Linked DNA regions of Homo sapiens: region 1 is linked to region 2. Evidence: promoter capture Hi-C in human tissues and cell types (Jung and others, 2019). All regions are on one chromosome and are shown on one strand. The core of a region is centred on a gene start or on the middle of the fragment in contact, and the rest is flanking DNA. Distances in the headings are between cores, read along the strand shown.

Region 1 (2,700 bases), core at 21-2,520, 1.0 Mb after region 2:
CGTGAGTGTCAGAGAAATCTCCCGCCCAACATCAGAAGAGATAGCCTAGCCAGAGCAGCCCAAACACACCATGAGCAAAATGAAAGTAAACAGCTTGGTAGATATGCAAGCATACACAGGGCCACTACAAGGAAGCAAAAACGTCAGTGTCATGAAGCACCAAAAAATAAATAAATAAATAAAATAAAATTTAAAAGTCTTCTTTAATCTAGAAAGAAGGTTGCTATGGACTAAACAGTATCCTCCCAAAATTTCTATATTGCAGACCAAACTCCCAGTGTGATGGTATTTGGAGATAGAGCCTTTGGGAGGTCATAGGGTTAGATGAGGTCAAAGGGTGGGGCCTTCATGAGGGGATTAGTACTCTTATAATAAGAGACACCGGAAAGCACTTCTGTTTTTCTTTTCTTTTCCTTTTCTTTTCTTTTTTTTTTTTTTTTTGAGACACGATCTTCCTCCATTGCCCAGGCTAGAGTACAGTGGCCCAATCTCAGCTCACTGCAGCCTTGACCTCCCGGGCTCAAGTGATTCTCTCACCTCAGCCTCCCAAGTAGCTGGGACTACAGGCATGTGTCACCATGCCCAGCTAATTTTGTTAATTTATTTATTTTTTGTAGAGACAAGGTCTCATTATGCTCCCCAGGCTGGTCTTGACTCCTGGATTCAAGCAATCCTCCTGCCTCAGCTTCCCAAAGTGCAGGGATTACAGGTATGAGCCACCACACTTAGCACAGAAAGCATTCTTGAGTGTGTTCTCTCTTCTCTCTCTTCTCTTCTCTTCTCTCTCTCTCTCTCTCTCCTGTCTCTCTCTCTTCTCTCTCTTCTCTTCTTTCTCTTCTCTCCCTCTCTCTCTCTCTCTCTCTCTCTCTCTCTCTCTCTCTCTGTCCCCTGTGGGGGTCACAGGAAGAAGACAGCAAGCCAGGAAGAGAGCCCTCACTGGGAGCTGATCATGCTGACACCACGATCTTGGACTTTCCAGCCTCCAGAAGGACAAGAAAATAAATCTCTATTGTGTAAGCCAATCAGTCTATGGTATTTTGTTATGGCAACTAAAGCAGACTAAAGATACATTTCTGCTAAATGCAATGTGTGATCCTCAGTTGGAGTCTGATTTTTTAATTCAACCTGCAAAGGAAAAAACAAACAAGGACAAGTATAAAAACAGATATGGTGAAATTCAATCCAAGGCAGAAAAGCAGGTGTCCCCAGATCCATCTCCCCATAAAAGAGCTCATAACAGTGGCTCACGCCTGTAATCCCAGCATTTTGGGAGGCCGAGGCAGGTGGATCAGTTGAGGTCAGGAGTTCGAGACCAGCCTGGCCAGCACAGTGAAACCCCATCTCTACAAAAATACAAAAATTAGCCGGGCATGGTGGCAGGCACCTGTAATCCCAGCTACTCGGGAGGCTGAGACAGGAGAATTGCTTGAACCTGGGAGGTGGAGGTTGCGGTGAGCCAAGATCGCGCCACTGTGCTCTAGCCTGGGCAACGGAGCAAGACTCCATCTAAAAGAAAAAAAAAAAAAAGAGCTCATAAGACTGTGACGTGGTGAGGCAACAACTCAGAGACAGGGCAGGAGCAGACAGAACCAAGATAATAACACTGCACATCTAATGGATAATGAAACAGCAAGAGGCCAGGCACGGTGGCTCACACCTGGCAGCTCCCACCTTCCAGCACTTTGGGAGGCCAAGGCGTGCCATCTTTTGAGCTCAGGAGTTCGAGGCCAGCCTGGGCAATATAGTGAGACACCGTCTCTAAAAAATATACAAAAATTAGCAGGACATGTCTGTGCATGCCTGTAGTCTCAGCGACTCTGGAGGCTGATGTGGGAGAATCACCTGAGCAAGGATGGGGAGGCTGTGGTGAACCAAGATGGGGGCAGGAGAATTGCTTGAACCTGGGAGGCAGAGGTTGCAGTGAGCCGGGGTCATGCCACTGCACTCCAGCCTGGGCGACAGAGACAGAGTCTGTCTCCAAAAAAAAAAAAAAAAAAAAAAAATACAAGCTTTGGAATTGGCCTGTAGTAACTGAACTTTCTGTTTGAGGTTTTTCTGGTGATTAACCTCTAACTACTATATAACACGGGTACATAGCTATAAGTTGCTGTCACTTTGAGACATTATCCCTTGGGGTCTCAGGTGACACCTGTAGAGGTGACTCACCACCCCATCCCCCCACATCTTCCTCTCAATGTGGTTATTACTATTTTCTATTATTATTTTCATTTTTTTTTAAACCGAGTCTCACTCTGTTGCCTAGGCTGGAGTGCAGTGGTGTGATCCCAGCTCACTGCAACCTCCGCCTCCCAGGTTCAAGCGATTCTCCTGCATCAGCCTCCCTAGTAGCTGGAATTACAGGCATGTACAACCGCTCCCAGCTAATTTTCGTTGTTGTTGTTGTATTTTTAGTAGAGATGGGGTTTCACCATGTTGGCCAGGCTAGTCTCCAACTCCTGACCTCAAGTGATCCGCCTACCTTAGCCTCCCAATGTGTTGGGATTTCAGGTGTGGCTCACACCACGCCTGGCCATTATTATTATTTTCAATCCCTCTATTGGTTCCTTCCATAAGCTTAAACATAATATTTGCGATTTTATTACTGGTTCTTCTATCCATAGAGGCTTCTCTTGATTCCCAACAAGGGAAGATGAAGATATTTGTTTCTCTAACCTTGGCTTTATAACCTCCACCTTCCAA
Region 2 (2,700 bases), core at 153-2,652:
GAAATCTGGTCGGGTGTGGTGGCTCACACCTGTAATCTCAGCACTTGGGAAGGCCGAGGCGGGCGGATCACCTAAGGTCAGGGTTTCAAGACCAGCCTTACCAACATGATGAAACCCCGTCTCTACTAAAAATACAAAAATTAGCCAGGCATGGTGGCGGACGCCTGTAATCCCAGCTACTCAAGAGGCTGAGGCAGGAGAACCGCATGAACCCAGGCGATGGAGGTTGCGGTGAGCTGAGATTGTGCCACTGCACTCCAGCCTGGGTGACAGAGTGAGATCTTGTCTCAAAAAAAAAAAAAAATTGTGGTAAGATACCCATAATATAAAATTCACCATTAAAAAATAACACGGAAGGGATCATCGTGAATGCAATGTGAGTATTGATGAGGATGGTGGTGATCTTCCAGAACCTTCTCTGACGCCACCCAGGCCGCCAGCCTTACTTTACCGGCTTCGGCGCTCATCATACTGTGCTGCAAATGCCAGTTTCCTCCTTCCCCCTTGGGAAGTTTCCTCCTTGGGGGTCGGCACCTAGACTGTATACCCCCCAGGGCGGAAACAGCGGTTCACCCACCAGGTGCTTAAGAAGGGTTTGTGGACCAGTGGACCTCCTGCTCTCCCTGGGGAAAGGAGCTGGGACATGTGTACACACCTGCAGCTACAAGATTCGGAGGGCGCACAGAGCCTCAACCGTAAGAAGGAGAGGCGATCAGGCTGAGGAAGATGGGGCAGTGGAGCTGGATGGATAGAGAGAGGGTGGGTTCATTCATTCGTTCACTCATTCGTTTATTCATATTCATCCATCCATCATTCATGCCCTGAGCGTGCGTTGTGTTCTGGGCAGGGCCTGTGCTGGGCACCGATTGTGTAATATATCATCTCTCCCTTCAAGGTGCACCCAATCTGGGTGGGTGGGTAGAGAGAAGCTACGGTGACAAGGCAAAAATTTGGGAAACACTCTCGTTAACAATTCAAACTGTGGTCCCCTCCCAGATGTATAAATCCAAATGTTTAGGGGTGGGCACAGTACTCTGCATCTCCAGACAGCATCCTCCGCTGATTCGGATGCATGATGACGTCAGAACACTTGGATATTGTGGTAACTTTTGGGCCAGGGGCTCTGAAACCCCGAAGACCTCCCCCTGGGAGATCCGGGACAGCTCCCAGAGAAGGTGAGTCTTAAACACATCCGTGACAGGCAATAAGGAAAATAAGGGGGGTCCGCTCTGCTGATCAGCCCTAAGAGCCGCGGCGGTTGTCGGCTGGGGCGGGGCACTCCACGACTTTCCCGGCCAGACACGGTCGCCTTCCTAGGTGTCTTGGCCTGCGAGGCACTCGTAGCCCGCCCCTCTCCTAGGTGACGTACATTGGAGACGCCGTCGCTCAGCGACCCGGGTTCGAGTCCCCGCCTCGGCCGCCATGGCGGATGCGGAGCCGGAGGCTGGGGGCGGCAGCGAGGATGGCGGCGGCGGCGGCGGCCCGGCTCCTCCGGGCCAGAGCGGCAGCGTCGCACGTGTGGCCCCGCTGGGCCCCGAGCAGCTGCGGCAGGTCCTGGAGCAGGTGACGAAGGCGCAGCCGCCGCCGCCGCCGCCCCCCTTCGTGCTGCGGGACGCGGCGCGGCGGCTGCGGGACGCGGCCCAACAGGCCGCCCTGCAGCGGGGCCGGGGCACCGAGCCCCCGCGCCTGCCGCGCCTGCTCCCGCCCCAGGTGAGGCGTCGGGAGGGACGTGGGGAAACTGAGGCCCGAAGGGGGCCGACGCCCCGCGGCGGGGTAGCTGCTTGTCCGGGGAGGCCAGTATCCGCCCGGGTTAAGACTCAGGGCGTCCCCAGGCTGAGCTTCTTAGGGACGGCGTTCGGCCCCCACCTGTCACCACCCTGGCATTTTCACCCCAGGAGCCTCACTCTAGGAGCGGTTGCTCACGCTGGGCCCTGTGCCTGGAACGCCCTCGTGCCTTCTCTGCCTTCACAGCCCTGCTGGGGGCTTTTGCGTGCTCCCTAGCTCTTCTTACAGGCCTTTCACCGCTGGTTCAGCCTTTGTGGAGCACTTAGAGACCGTGTTCCCAGCACTCCCCACTATGTGCAGGAGGTGAAGCCTTGAACACACTTGCTGAAGAACGAACATAAGGCAGGTTCTGGGATTGACGGGGGCTGCTTTAGAGTGGGTGGTCCCGTAGGCCAGACACTGGAGCTGAAACATAAATGAATTAAAAGGAACCAACTTAGCTTTTCAGTTGTAAGGTGCCAAGGCCCAGGCTTGGAACAAAGTCAAGCACAATACACTAGTTCGCTGCAGGACTTAACATCCTGGGTGATAGTGACTGATTTGTAACCGCAGTACCCAGCACAGTGCCTGATACACAATGTTTGGAATATGTGAAAGCACTCTGTATACTACAAAACATCCTTTCCCAGTGGGTTTATTTCCTGGGCCACACACCTTTTGGTTGCTAGGGGGGTGATAACTAGAAGACGGTCGCCCAACTCCGGAGGGTGAAGCATAGCGCCTGAAGCCAGAGGGCCTACACGGCATCTGTAAAATTCCACCCCATTTCAGCGCTGGGGTTGTAAACAAAATTAGTCTCACCCCAAAATTGCCAAAAGAAGACAGCTTTTTCCACTAGAAGAAACGGGTTAGGGAATAGAATCAGGAACCTTCACTCGTTGAGTTTTTTTGACTGATGTTAGCTGCTTAGGGTTG

Evidence for each region. Contacts are between HindIII fragments. The study calls those that stand out against the background at their distance.
Region 1: a contact is called between a fragment that was not itself captured here and the fragment with the promoter of ZNF839 in region 2, in 1 of the 25 tissues and cell types used here (adrenal gland).

Annotation. Positions count from the first base shown.
Region 1 is chr14:103,356,298-103,358,997 of GRCh38, forward strand. No RefSeq gene overlaps it. Among named protein-coding and RNA genes, the nearest start is that of SNORA28, 20 kb to the left of the region's middle. The HindIII fragment of the contact is 3,148 bases long and covers 1-2,700 here.
Region 2 is chr14:102,318,344-102,321,043 of GRCh38, forward strand. ZNF839 (zinc finger protein 839) reads left to right here and starts at 1,403. Exons shown (of 8, transcript NM_018335.6): 1 at 1,403-1,710. The coding sequence starts at 1,423. RefSeq lists silencers at 1,463-1,562, 1,623-1,812 and an enhancer at 1,913-2,022. The HindIII fragment of the contact is 9,233 bases long and covers 1-2,700 here.